Linked DNA regions of Homo sapiens: regions 2, 3, 4 and 5 are each linked to region 1. Evidence: promoter capture Hi-C in 16 types of primary human blood cells and fetal thymus (Javierre and others, 2016). All regions are on one chromosome and are shown on one strand. Each heading gives the region's core, a stretch centred on a gene start or on the middle of the fragment in contact. The rest is flanking DNA. Distances are from core to core; before and after follow the strand shown.

What was found. Contacts are between HindIII fragments. The CHiCAGO score rates a contact against its expected background, and 5 or more counts as called.
Region 2: a contact is called between a fragment that was not itself captured here and the fragment with the promoter of HSPG2 in region 1, in 3 of 17 cell types (megakaryocytes, erythroblasts and M1 macrophages). The highest score is 7.3, in megakaryocytes.
Region 3: a fragment that was not itself captured here is called in contact with the fragment with the promoter of HSPG2 in region 1 in 2 of 17 cell types (megakaryocytes and erythroblasts); the score reaches 9.5 in megakaryocytes.
Region 4: a fragment that was not itself captured here is called in contact with the fragment with the promoter of HSPG2 in region 1 in 1 of 17 cell types (erythroblasts); the score reaches 7.7 in erythroblasts.
Region 5: a contact is called between a fragment that was not itself captured here and the fragment with the promoter of HSPG2 in region 1, in 3 of 17 cell types (erythroblasts, naive CD4 T cells and megakaryocytes). The highest score is 6.3, in erythroblasts.

Annotation. Positions count from the first base shown.
Region 1 is chr1:21,935,825-21,938,640 of GRCh38, reverse strand. It overlaps HSPG2 (heparan sulfate proteoglycan 2), which reads left to right and starts at 1,331. Exons shown (of 97, transcript NM_005529.7): 1 at 1,331-1,486. The coding sequence starts at 1,424. RefSeq lists a silencer at 943-1,292 and an enhancer at 2,040-2,816. The HindIII fragment of the contact is 13,080 bases long and covers 1-2,000 here.
Region 2 is chr1:21,681,197-21,684,012 of GRCh38, reverse strand. All of the region lies in intron 25 of USP48 (ubiquitin specific peptidase 48), which reads left to right. Among named protein-coding and RNA genes, the nearest start is that of RAP1GAP, 13 kb to the right of the region's middle. The HindIII fragment of the contact is 3,882 bases long and covers 1-2,816 here.
Region 3 is chr1:21,699,761-21,702,576 of GRCh38, reverse strand. It overlaps USP48 (ubiquitin specific peptidase 48), which reads left to right. Exons shown (of 27, transcript NM_032236.8): 22 at 975-1,079. Among named protein-coding and RNA genes, the nearest start is that of RAP1GAP, 32 kb to the right of the region's middle. The HindIII fragment of the contact is 5,242 bases long and covers 1-2,816 here.
Region 4 is chr1:21,723,477-21,726,292 of GRCh38, reverse strand. It overlaps USP48 (ubiquitin specific peptidase 48), which reads left to right. Exons shown (of 27, transcript NM_032236.8): 12 at 2,198-2,395. Among named protein-coding and RNA genes, the nearest start is that of RAP1GAP, 56 kb to the right of the region's middle. The HindIII fragment of the contact is 1,886 bases long and covers 418-2,303 here.
Region 5 is chr1:21,743,999-21,746,814 of GRCh38, reverse strand. All of the region lies in intron 8 of USP48 (ubiquitin specific peptidase 48), which reads left to right. Among named protein-coding and RNA genes, the nearest start is that of USP48, 38 kb to the left of the region's middle. The HindIII fragment of the contact is 1,200 bases long and covers 808-2,007 here.

The DNA of each region.
Region 1 (2,816 bases), core at 82-2,581:
CCACCCGAGCATCTGTGATGGGGCTTTGGCAGGGTCTGTCTGTCTGGGCCTGAGTGTGTGAGTTGGTGTGGTTCTGGCTCTGGGGCTGTGATTTATGTGACTCAAAGTTGGTGTGTGAGTGATTTACATGGAAAATGGTGCAGGTGGGGTGGGCAGCTCAGTTCAGTACCCAGTGCCCACTATGAGGCACTGTGATTAGTGGGTGAGAACAGGTAAAAGATACAGGCTGAGGCTGGGTGCGGTGGCTCAATGCCTGTAATCCCATCACTTTGGGAGGGCAAGGCGGGCAGATCACAAGGTCAGGAGTTCGAGACCAGCCTGGCCAACATGGTAAAAACCCCATCTCTATTAAAAATACAAAAATTAGCCAGGCGTGGTGGCACGCCTGTAATCCCAGCTATTCAGGAGGCTGAGGCCGGAGAATTGCTTGAACCCGGAGGCGGAGGTTGCAGTGAGCCAAGATCCCACCACCGCACTCCAGCCTGGGGACAGAGCGAGACTCCTTCTCAAAAAAAAAAAAAAAAAAAAAAACAAGCTGGTAAGCATGTAGGCAATGATGTGGGCCTGTGTGTGAAATGTGCGTGCCTGCGAGGAATCTATGTGAAAAGGCGTCCTCCCGCTCCGTGACTTGTTGGGATGTATGCGTGAGTGAGGGGCTGAGTGTGGTGTGAGGGCTGTCTCCTGTGTCCCTGGTGGAGGTGAGAGTTTGGAAGCGAGTTAAGTGTGCATGTGAGCCGGTGAGGATTGTTGGTACTTCAGAGTTGGGTCCAGAGTGTGAAAGTGTTCCCGGGTAGCGCACAAGTGTGTTCGTGCAGTAAAGTTATGGTGTGAAGGTGTTCTTGGGTGTGGAAGTTGGCGTGCACGTGTGGCGCGGAGCGGCAGCTGCGTGCGTGTGAGCGTGGGAAGGAGATCCCGGGATCTTCAAAAGCTGCGCGAGTGGAGTCGGCCGTGCGGGGCGTGCAGGGGCGTGGAAGTCGGCGGCGCGCGCGGGGAAGCGGGGGAGCCGGGGATCGGGGAGGCGAGAGCGCCTGGCCCGGCGGCCCCATCCCATGCCCGGGCCCGGGCCCCCGGTCCCCCGCCCCGTCCCATCCCATACTCCAGGCCGGGTTTGGCGGGGAGCCGGGCCGGGCCGCGGCCCGCGCGGAGGGGGCTGGGGGCCCAGACAAAGGCCTAGTAGGCTGCGCGGCCGGCTGGGGCGAGCAGAGCCCGCGGCCCGGGGGCGGTCCGTGGGCGGGGCCTGGCGCTCCGGGGAGGGGCGGTTCGGGGGCGGGGCCGGCGCTGCGGGGGCGGGGCGGGCGGGGAGGAAAGGGGGCGGTGGGGAGAGGGCCGCGCTGTCCCGAGCTGGCCGGCGAGCGGGCGGCTGCGGGCGGCGCGGAGCGGGCGGCGCGGAGCGAGCGAGCGAGAGAGCGGCGCGGGCCGGGCCATGGGGTGGCGGGCGGCGGGCGCGCTGCTGCTGGCGCTGCTGCTGCACGGGCGGCTGCTGGCGGTGAGTGTGCGGGGCAGAGGGGCGGGGGGCGGGGGCGGAGGGGCTAGGGGCGCCCCGGTCCCGCTCGCCGCCTCCCGCCAACTTGGCTGGGGCGCCCAAGGCTGCGCGGCGGGGACTCTGGCCCGGGACGGCGGCGCCCGCCGGGGACCCCGGGCCGGCGCCACCCTGCGGCATGGGGCTAATCCAGGGGGGCCACCAGTCAGGACCCTTCGTGGGGCTGGGGGCGGGGCTGGCCCGTGTGGGAGCCCGTGGGTCTCTCGGCCACGTTGCCGAGTGCTGGAGTCTCGCTGGGCATGGTCCGGCCTACCATTCCTGGGGACCAGGAGGGGAAACTTTGAGCAGGGTGGGAACTTGGCAGGACGAGGGAACCCTTCTGCGCCAGCTTGGCAGAACGGCCACTCAGTGGTGATGGGGACCCTATGAGTCTCGCTGAAACTTTACCACACCGTCTATCACCTTGGGGAGCTTGGACCCAGGTAGGCACAAGCAAAACTTTTGGGACAGAACTGAAGCTTGTGTGGAACACCCACGGGCCTTGGAGTCATACAGCCGAAGAGTTGAATCAATCCCTGCCTTTCACTGAGTAACTGTGTGACCTGGGGCACGCTAGTTAACCTCTCTGAGGCCAGCCCCACGTGGGTCAAGGGAACTCAAAATGCACGGCCTCAAAATGCATAGCTGCAGGGCGTTGCTGGACTGCGTGGAATGAGCTGCAAAGTGCGTGGTGCGGGGATGCAGTGCACCCTTGGGGGACCCGAGTTCCCCAGCTTTCCTCTTCCCAGGTCTCCAAGAGGCAGGGAGAGGCCTGCCCTTGCAGTCTAGTCCCCTACTCTGAGCTTAGGTGGAGGAAAAGGGAATTCTACGGTCAGGAATCCCGAGGCTTAGAAGGCACTTGGCCAGCAGAGGCCCTGAGGACCTGAGTGAACTTGAGGAGGACTGGGTGGGGTCGGTGGGCAGGGAGCTAGTGGCAGATGTGGGTGGGGGCACATCTGGGGAGCCGAGCCTACCGTGGGGAGCCACAGAGCCACCCCCACTCTCTCCGAGGTGCTCCTAGGCAGTCCCCATACCTGCCTCCCTGTTCTCTGAGCCAAGAGAGGGACTTTTCTAACCAGGCTGGTGTTTACCCAGGAACTGCCTGCCTGGCCTCACCTTCCTGGCTTCATCGCACCTCTACCCTCCTGAGTCACTCGTCAAGCCCCCACCCAGACCTGGCTCCTCACTGCTCTTGCCCCACCCACCCAGCACTTCTCCTCCCCCATCCCCACTCTGGGCAGCCTCCTCTGTCGTCCTCCTGTTTCAGCCTCTCACCCCAAAATATTCAGCAGGGCCA
Region 2 (2,816 bases), core at 168-2,667, 250 kb after region 1:
TTTATATGTAGACATACAATGGGATACTATTATTCAGCCATTAAAAAAATGAAATCCTGTCATTTGCAGCAACATGGGTGGAACTGGAGGACATTATGTTAAGTGAAATAAGCCAGGCTCAGAAAGACAATACTGTATTTTCTCACTCATACGTAGGAGCTAAAAAAGCTGATCTTTTGGCTGTAGAATGGTAGTTATGAGTGGATGGGAAAGGGGCCATATGAAGGGAGGTTGGTTAATGGGTACAAACATACAATTTGATAGAAAGAATAAGTTCTGGTATTCAGTAGTACAGTAGGGTGATATGTTGTATATTTCAAAAGAGCTAGAAGAAAAGATAATGCAATGTTCCCAACACAAAGAAATGATAGGCCGGGCGCAGTGGATCACTTGAACCCAAGAGTTCAGGACCAACCTGGGCAACATAGTGAGACCCTGTCTCTACTACAAATTTTAAAAAAAGAGCCAGGCATGGTGGCTCGCACCTGTGGTCTCAGATACTTGGGAGGCTGAGGTGGGTGGATTGCTTGAGCCGGGGAGTTGGAGGCTGCAGTGAGCTGTCATCATGCCACTACACTCAAGCCTGGGTGACAGATTGAGACCCTGTCTCAAAAAAGAAGAAATAATAAATATTCAAGGTGATGGAGATAACTAAATACCCTGATGTGATCATTATACACTGTATGCATGTATCAAAATATAAGCTGTTCCCCATAAATATGTACAAATATTATGTTTGGCTTTTATTTTTTATTTTTTATTTTTTTGAGATGGAGTCTCAAAAGGCTGAAGTGCAGTATGGCTCACTGCAACCTCCGCCTCTGGGCTTCAAGTGATTCTCCTGGCTCAGCCTCCTGAGTAGTAGCTGGGACTATAGGCATGCAACACCATGCCTGGCTAACTTTTGTATTTTTGGTAGAGACGGGGTTTCACTATATTCGCCAGGCTGGTCTCAAATTCCTGTCGTCAGGTGATCTGCCCATCTCGGCCTCCCGAAGTGTTTGGATTACAGATGTGAGCTATTGCACCTGGCCTTGTTTGTATTTTTTTTAAAGCTGGTTCATGTCCCAGGCACCCTTTAGTCAATCCCACCAGTGCCCACTGAACAGAGCTTTCAGACATCTTTTTTTTTTTTTTTCTGAGATGGAGTCTCACAGTTGCCCAAGCTGGAGTGCAGTGGCATGATCTTGGCTCACTACAATCTCCCCGTCCTGGGTTCAAGCGATTCTTCTGCCTCAGCCTCCCAAGTAGCTGGGACTACAGGCGCCTGCCACCATGCCCAGCTAATTTTTGTATTTTTAGTAGGGACAGAGTTTCACTATGTTGTCCAGGCTGCTCTGGAACTCGTGACCTCATGATCCGCCTGCCTCGGCCTCCCAGTGTGCTGAGATTACAGGCGTGAGCCACTACGCCTGGCCCACAAATCTTTTTAGTACCTCATACTTAAGTAAATATGAGCAGTCAGATAGTTGAGGAATGAGAGCCTGGGACCAAGATATGTCGAGGAAATAGCATAGGAAGCATAAGAAAGCTGGAAAATAACCTATAAATAATGGCAAAAAAAAAAAGCAAACAATAGGAAGAGGAACTATATAAAAGGAACATTTGGAGCATAGAAGAGAGTTCATGGAAATGTAAAAAATGATGGTACCCTGGGTTTGATATAGTAAGTAAAAAACTAAGGGTAAGAGGGTCATGAAAGCATCTAGAAGTAGGAGGGAAAGCCAGTCAAATTCACAGGATGAAGTCAGGAAGATAATAGAGCAGTGCCCGCAAGATCCTGAGGGAAAGCAAGTTCCAATCTATAAGTCTGTAACCCTCACACCTGATGGCCCCTTGAACATATTCAGGGCTTCAAAAGATTGATCTGTCATGCACCGTCTGCCATGATACTGTGTGAGGATGTGTTCTTCTTCTTAAACATTAAATCAAGAAAGAATCAACAGTGGACCCAGTAAATAGCAGATCAGCCTAGGATAAGATGCCCTAGAAGATGGTGAAGGGAAGTCTCAGAACTACTGTTCTTCAGCAGGCAGCGAAGACACCTGATCCATATTGGAGTGGTGGGATGCGAGCTTCAGGAAGGGATGCCACAAGGAAAAGTGGAAGGGATGATGACTGTCTTCAAGAGGTTACAGGTCTTTAAGAATTTACACGTGAATTGGAGATAAATACAGAGAAAATGAAACACATCAGTAATTCAGTAGTTACCAAGCCCAGAAAGACCAAGTCATACCATGTAGTAAATATAACCAAGGTGCACCAAGGCATTCAACTGTGACTAGTATTAATGGCGTAAAAAGTAATGCCAGCGCTGGAGACTGGCTTAACAACAACAAACACCACTTCATCAGGAGGATGGGTCGGGGCAGGTGCTATGTAAGTGGTAAAACAGCTGTTTGTATCCTTCACTGAAGAATTTATTAGATTTTTATCTAAAATTATGAAGTAGGCCAGGCACGATGGCCCACTCCTGTAATCCCATCACTTTGGGAGGCTGTGGCGGGCGGATCACTTGAGGTCAAGAGTTCGAGACGAGCCTGGCCAACGTGGTGAAACCCTGTCTCTACTACAAATACAAAAATTAGCCAAGTGTGGTGGTGGGTGCCTGTAATCCCAGCTACTTGGGAAGCTGAGGCAGGAGAATTGCTTGAACCCAGGAAGCAGAGGTTGCAGTGAGCCGAGATCATGCCACTGCACTCCATTCTGGGTGACAGAGCTGGACACCCTCTCAAAAAAAAAAAGTAAATAAAATTATGAAAAGCATGTTATTTAGAAATAGGCTAAATACCAGAAGAAGCTGCTGTGTGAGTCAA
Region 3 (2,816 bases), core at 131-2,630, 240 kb after region 1:
AAAAAAATCACCCTGGCTATAGTGTTTGGAATTGCTGTGAGGGCATAACAGAAATAAGAGAGGTCAGTTAGAGCCTCTTCCATTGACCTGCAAGGATAGGTGAAATTGATTGGATATGTTTGGGAAGTGGAGGTGTTAATACTTGCTTGGATTGGATTTCCAAGCATTTTTATTATATTAGGGATGGCTCTTGGGTAGATCCTGACCCATATCTCTAGATATCTTATTAATTTATTTAATTCCATGCTTTCTGGGATTAAAGACAAAATGGAATACATTTTATTTGATGCTTGTTTCCAAACACATTTTTTAGAAGGGTAACTTATAATTATGCCCTGGAGGCCAAGGGTTCTGCTTTACAAGCTAAATAAACTAAGGCCTTCATTTCCTAATTTGCCGAGAAAATGAAGTTAATGAGTATAAATGTCTCTGTTTCTCCCTGTAAAATTTTCTTAAATCTTTTGTTCTCTGGTATAAAATATTATCCAATTTAGATGTAGTTTCATTATTCAGTTTAATAAGAGTATTTCATAGTGTTTGCAAGAGAGCGCTTCTTCCATCTTTCGTTTTCTCAATTCTTAAAGAGCATGTAACTCCTGCCACTTGAATAGTTTGAGAACTTGAAAAGGCTTGGCAATCAGTGTGCTCGGGAAGGTGTCAAGCACCTTCGAACTTCTGCAAAATAACATCATTGTACAAGACTGATAATAATAACTGCTCTGCAGAGACCTCTTAAATGTATGGTGAGCACATTAAATACTACAAGAATAAGTCATAGGGTAAAAAACTAACATGTTAAAAGAGCATAGAAAACCGTGAAGGCTTGATTCTTGATCCACTCTCCAGTCTATAATCCCACCATGATAAAGGTGTTCCTCGTCTTGATAAAGGTTGCCGGTCCCAGCCCCCACATCCTCCATAGCCTGCCTTCCTAGGGTCTGACCTACTTCTCTTTGTTGTCCTGGCACATTCAGGTGATGAAGGATTCGGCTCCGGAACTGAATGTGAGTAGTTCTGAAACAGAGGAGGACAAGGAAGAAGCTAAACCAGATGGAGAAAAAGATCCAGATTTTAATCAAGTATGTGTTGAAGCTGCTTTTCATTGTTATACTTTCTGCTGTTCTTATAGAGCAGCCACTCGAAGCCCCTGGCCATGTCTCTGTACCCTGTATGGGATATTGGTTCTTTTTTTTTCTTTTTTTTTTTTTTTTGAGATGGAGTCTCGCACTGTTGCCTGTGCTGGAGTGCAATGGCACTATCTCAGCTCACCACAATGTCCGCCTCCTGGGTTTAAATGATTCTCCTGCCCCAGCCTCCTAAGTAGCTGGGATTATAGGCGCCCACCACCACACCCGGCTAATTTTTTATATTTTTAGTAGAGACGGGGTTTCACTGTGTTGGCCAGGCTGGTCTCGAACTCCTGACCTCGTGATCCGCCCACCGCAGCCTCCCAAAGTGCTGAGATTACAGGCAGGAGCCACCGCACCCGGCCTTTTTTTTTTTTTTTTTTTTGAGATGGATCCTAGCCTTGTCAACCAGGCTGGAGTACAGTGGCACAATCTCGGCTCGCTGCAACCTCCACCTCCCAGGTTCAAGTGATTCTCCTGCCTCAGCCTCCCAAGTAGCTGGGATTACAGGCATGCGCCACCACTCCTGGCTAATTTTTTGTATCTTTAATGGAGACGGGGTTTCACCTAGGCTGGTCTTGAACTCCTGATGTCATGATCCTCCCGCCTTGGCCTTCCAAAGTGCTGGGATTATAGGCGTGAGCCACCGCATCCGGCCCATAAATTGTCTTTTGAGAACAGGAAATCGTGGGAATATGGTTGATGTAGGTGGAGATAAGTTTCAGCTTCTCAAAAAGTCAGACCCCCACATTGGAGGATATTTTGTACTTTAAACTCATGGATTTTCTACTCAAAGTTTTATTTTTAACAGATGAGATGTTTGTTTTCTTTCTTTACTACTAAAATAGTGTAGTGAAATTGTGGATGGTGTTCTCCCTGAAAGAATGAAAGTGTTACAATAGCCATCTGCAATATCTGTGACAGGGCAGAGGTATCTGGGCTTGTTGGCCTGTCTGCATGTTGATACTGTTACTTCATTTTTAACATTGATTGAGAGAGTCTGAAAAGCCGTCTTGATTTGAATCTTGGTGTGCCCAAAATAAATGTTACTTGTGGTTTCCCAACCGGTGTAAAGGGATGTCAGCATTTGTTTTCCGTGGCTTATTGGCGCTCATAAAATAACCTCAAAACACCTGTGAAGAAGCAAAATCATGCAGTTTGTGACAGTGATCAGCCACTCTTTAAGTTGTCCTTCCCAGTCTGTATTTCAGTCAGTCAACACTGGAGGGCCCTTTGCTTCAGTGCTAACCAAATCTGTACACTTGATGAGAATGCAGGTTTTCAGTTTAAAGGGGATATTTTTCTATAGTAAGTGATGCCCTTATTAAACTCTGTGTGCATATATACATCTTGTGCTCCTTGGCATAAGGAACAGGGTAAAGAAGGGCAGCAAAGTCATGTCTGCAAACGCTTGTGGAGACATATTAGTTGACTCTACTAATATGTCTCCACAAGCGTTTGCAGACATGACTTTGCTGCCGCCCTTTACCCTGTTGTCAACTCTGTTTTCATGTCCCCATCTCTGTGGCGGGGACATCTCTGTGGTCTATACAAGCCATCTTTCGAGCCACATTTGTGCAAACTCGATTGTGTGCTTTTCAGTTGATATATTAAAAGTGTGTGTGTGTGTGTGTGGCCAGGCGCAGTGGCTCACGCCTGTAATTCCAGCATTTTGGAAGGCCGAGGCGG
Region 4 (2,816 bases), core at 111-2,610, 210 kb after region 1:
CATTGTTGCTGGACAGTCAGGGCCACAGTCACCCTAGGCTTTGAATTCCTGCAGACATCCCCTGGCAAGGAGGGCTTTGTGCATTTTGAGCTTTCCTAGATTCCTTTCATTGTGAGGGCCAGGATTCTTAGGGTGTTTTCTTTCAGTTAGCAATAACAGATACTGCTGTCTGTCCACTCCTCCCCAGCTGCTGGGGAAACTAGGATGCCTAGTGACTTATTCTTGAATGTTGCTCTTTATCACAATCCTGTTTTTTCTCCTTTGATAGCCTTCATATTGCTTACCATTTTAATCTAATTGACTGTCCTTGGGAAAAGATGAGAGTATGCTAAGACTTTGATCTTGCTTTCAGAAAGGGATCATTTATCTTTGCATTCCCCAGATACCCAGTGTACTCTATCCCTGGCAGATTAAGCTTGATAAATGGCAAATAAAGTCGGGAGGCATTTTGAATGTAATTAGCCATACCATGATATACTGTAAAGTGCTGCAGCTGTGTTACATATACTGCATCTTAAAGTCTCCTCTTTTTTTTTTTTGAGATGGAATTTCACTCTTGTTGCCCAGGCTAGAGCGCACTGGTGCAATGTCAGCTCACCACAACCTCCGCGTCCCGGGTTCAAGTGATTCTCCTGCCTCAGCCTCCCGAATAGCTGGTATTACAGTCGTGTGCCGCCATGCCCAGCTAATTTTTTGTATTTTTAGTACAGACGGGGTTTCTCCCTGTTGGTCAGGCTGGTCTCAAACTCTGGACCTCAGGTGATCTGCCCGCCTCGGCCTCCCAAAGTGCTAGGATTACAGGCGTGAGCCACCATGCCCAGCCAAGGTCTCCTCTTTTATATATTAAGTTTACGTAAATGTATAATTAACTTTTCCATATCTCTTTTCTTCCAAAAAGCTCAAAATGCTTCACATAGCTTATCTTTTATACTCAACAACATTCCCATGAGGTAGGTAGAAGGCAGGTATTATTACCTTCATTTTACAAATAAAAGACTGGAAACATAGAAAGTTTAAGTGACTTGTTCAGGTTCATTTTCTTGGTAGCAGAACTTGGATTAGACCGTGACCTCGACTCACAGTCCTGTGCTCTTCCTCTGGAGCCACATTCGACTTGACCAGTTAGAAGGCTCTTAGTTGATGATGTACAGTGCCAAATTTTGTTTTCATAAAAATTGAGATGGTTTACTGTAAAATTAAAATGGGAGTTAGTTTTCTAGACATGTAACTCTCTGGGGAGTATAAAACTGGTCACAATGGGCTTTGCGTTGAAGTATCTGTCCCTCAGATCTCATCAGAAGGAGTATATAATACAAAAATATAAATTCAACCTCTGTATGTTTTCTTCTATGTTTTATGCTGGGACTCACTGGAGATCTTTGTAAGTAATCAAAGCTGGCCCTTTATCTTTGATTTTGGCTTTTAGGGAATTCTAGGGACTTCCTTTCCCCAAATTAAAACTCATTTTGAGGTGTTTGGTTTTGTCTTTTAATTTTTGCAACTTCAAAATTGATGACTCAGTTCTAGTGTACTTTATCCTCGAACTTGTTTAAAATAGGTTACTTTCTTGAAATAAATAATAATATAATGAAGAGATCATGACTTGGATTTGGGTGGGGGAATTAAATACCTTTTCAAAATTGCCATCAGTATCATCTTGGATGAAGAAAGTTCAGTGGTTAAAAGCGTCTTCTGAAGTGTGGTCATAGTCGGTGAGGTTTATTTCAGTTTGGCTTCTCATTTTAATTTTCAGATGTATATCACATATATGTGAAAAGTACTGACAAAAATAATTTATGAAATAAACACAGTAGGGCATGAGGTTGTGTTATTTGTGAGGCAGCAATGGAGCATGACTTGTAGTCAACAAACATGGGTGTCCTGATCAAAGCTCTGCTGTGCTATTCGGCAAGACTCTATGTGGATGCCTCTTGTAGAATGTGGTTAATAATACCAGCCGATCTCATAGGGCACTGTGCAGACTCAGCATTATGGTGCACAGCTCCTTGAACTCATAGGAGTGGCACTTAACTGGAGCTTTGTGTCGTACTCATCAAACATCTTCCCCCAGACAATGATTCTTCTGATTCTGCTAACTCTGGACAGAGTTTGCATTGTCTTTTGAGAAAAATGAATGTATCACTTAGTCAAAAAACTGTAAAAATACATAGGCTCTTTCCGATGCTTGCTTTCTCAGAGCCCTATGAGTTTGTCTCTCTGGAATGGCTGCAAAAGTGGTTGGATGAATCAACACCTACCAAACCTATTGATAATCACGCTTGCCTGTGTTCCCATGACAAGCTTCACCCGGATAAAATATCAATTATGAAGAGGATATCTGAATATGCAGCTGACATTTTCTATAGTAGATATGGAGGAGGTCCAAGACTAACTGGTAATTCAAGATGTCCTCTCTGTTTAAAAAAGAGCAGCTCATTAAATCTTCATCTTATGGTCTTTATGAGTGTGGCTTATGATGATTTGACCCAAACTATGCTAGACCAAATATTCCTTACACTTTGCACAAAGGATTTGCTAAATAAAGTAGAAGTTAAGCAACTGATGCTATTCATAGAGGGTTGGTTGGGGTTTTTTGGTTTGTTTTTTTGGTTTGTTTCTTTTAACCCCTCTCAAAGCAGACAAAATAGGACCCTTTTAAGAAAACTGTCTGGTAGTAGTTTGTTACTCTGTGTAATACTGTTTAAGGTACTTGAGCCCTTGTCTGGTTAATTGCAAGTTTGTGCCTCCATGTTATGGTGACTTCTTTTTTTTTTTTTTTGAGATGGAGTCTCACTCTGTTACCCAGGCTGGCGTGC
Region 5 (2,816 bases), core at 158-2,657, 190 kb after region 1:
AAAAATGAAAAAGGTATTTTACTGTTTCTGAACCCGCACTTGCCACCTTAGTTTCAATACTATTATTTATCATTTCTCAAAACTAACAGTCTCCAAGCGCCTCTATTCACTTTTTTAAAAACGTTGTCCCAGAAACATTAGGTGGCATAATTCCAGTATTTATGCTTTCATTTTTCATATCTGCAACTACTGATACGCCCTAGGATGCTATCATTGTTTTAACAAGAAATAAGTACTGCTTTTTTCTTTTGGTAGTCTTCATCCTACCAAACAGGTTGAGTCTTACTAGAGAAAGGACTGTTTTACTTCCCTTTAAGGTTGATTGTAGTACTTATAAAATATTATGTATGTATGTATGTATTTTTGAGACGGAGTCTTGCTCTGTTGCCTAGGCTGGAGTGCAGTGACACGATCTCAGCTCACTGCAACCTCAGCCTCCCTTGTAGCTGGGAGGCTACAAGGGAGCCCAGCTAATTTTTGCACTTTAGGGTTTTGCCGTGTTGGCCAAGCTGGTCTCAAACTCCTGGCCTCAAGTGGGACACCTGCCTTGACCTCCCTAAGTGCTGGGATTACAGGCGTGAGCCACTGCCCCCAACCTGAAATTTTTAATGTAGAAATTATTTTATAAACTCTATCTCTTTCCAAAAAAATAAAAAATTTCTAGAGGCAGCTTACAATGGAAGCAAGCTGTAAAAACCTTTAAGAGACATTTCTGGAGGCAGCTTACAATGGAAGCAAGCTGTAAAAACCTTTAAGAGACATGATTGGGAAAGTTGGGGAGGAATGTGCTAAATAAATATGTAAGCTTTCAAATGTATGATACTCTTCAGTACTGTACTTTAAAATTTGTACCTCTGTGGAACAAGGAAACTGTTTTCAACTTCAGTTTTGGACTTCAATGTTAGATTGTTAAATTTTGTTGAATAAATAAACTTAGCTATAGTTCACTTTATGTAGTAGTTTGCTTCCTGCCTCCTTTGTTCAGGCAATTGAAATTGAGGAAAATCTAATGGGTTAGTGGCTTCCCAGTCCAGAAACTTAGGAGATGTGAAATGAGCACTTTGCTTGACTTGACTGGATGAGTTTGAATTGTTACTATTACTACTTACTAAGTTTATTATATATTTGCCCAGTTTATGCTATAAAGAAAATATTTATCAAAAGGACGTGTTAGATCAAAACCTGTAGAAATACTTAATTTTGGTATGTTGGTTTACTAAATATAGTATTTTTTATTTTTTATTAATTTGTTTTTGAGACAGGGTCTGGCTCTGTCGCCCAGGCTATAAATTGCATTGATGTGATCACGGCTCATCACGGACTCAGCCTCCTGGGCTCAAGCTGGAACTACAGGCATATTCCACCAGGCCCAGCTAATTTTTAGTTATTTTTTTTTAGAGACGGGGTCTTGAACTCCTGGGCTCTAGTGATCCTCCTACTTCAGCCTCCCGAAAGTGCTGGGATTACAGGCATGAGCCACCATGTTTGTCTCCTTAATTTTTAAATAAATGAATGAATAAATAAATAAATAAATATTATCTACTCATTTTAGAATTGTTAGGACTGGTAAAAGCAATCTAGTGGTTTATAGTTATAGGCTTGTCTTTTACACGCTGTCGTAATGCTTGCTGTACCTTATATAGGTAGAAGACTAAAAACAATTAACTTTTGTTAATTGCATAGGATTTGTTCTAGATAATTTGGGAAATTCAGAAAGCATAAAGAAAAGAAATACAAACCATATGTAATTTTGTCATCCAGATAATTAGTATTTATATTTTCCCGTACCCACACATAACCACACAAATCTGTACACACATATCCATGCAAAGCTCAAAAGATGGATCCAAAAGAAGATCTGTTGTTAAAAGGAGAATCCACCTGTTTCTTTAAATGGTGAGACTGCAGATATGCAGACATCTTTAGAATGAGGGATCCTCATTTTTGAACATTAGCCCCTGACTCTCAAACTCAAGTCTTGCCATATTCCTTGGGGACTTAAAAGCTTAGCATTTTTTTTTTTTTTTTTTTTTTTTTAGAGATAGAGTTTCATTCTGTTGCCCAGGCTGGAGTGCAGTGGCATGATCTCGGCTCACTGCACCCTCCATCTCCTGGGTTCAAGCAATTCTCCTGCCTCAGCTTTCCGAGTAGCTGGGATTACAGGCGCCTGCCACCATGCCTGGCTAATTTTTTGTATTTTTAGTAGAGACGGGGTTTCACTGTGTTGACCAGGCTGGTCTTGAACTCCTGACCTCAAGTGATCTGCCCGCCTTGTCCTCCCAAAGTGCTGGAATTACAGGCGTGACCCACCGCACCTGGCCTAAAAACTATGTTAATTCTGAAGTTTTTTTCTTTTTCTGTTTTTTTTTTTGAGACAGAATTTTGCGTCGCCCAGGCTGGAGTGCAGTGGTGCAATTTCGACTCACTGCAGCCTCCACCTCCTGGGTTCAAGCAATTCTCTCTGCCTCAGTCTCTCGAGTAGCTGGGACTACAGACGCATGCCATCGTACCTGGCTAATTTTTGTATCTTTAGTAGAGATGGGATTTCGCCATATTGGCCAGGCTGGTCTCGAGAACTCCCAACCTCAGGTGATCTGCCCACCTCGGCCTCCCAAAGTGGTGGGATTACAGGTGTGAGCCACCACGCCTGGCCTTAATTTTAAAATTGATTAGTTCAATGAATTGATGAATATAAATCCAGGTTATCTGCAAGAATGGTAATGTCAACATTTTTAATGCTGTCTATTGGTAATAAAGACAGCTACTGCTGATACCTGTGGATTATTGTCTTCATTAATGATATAGGGAATACTATT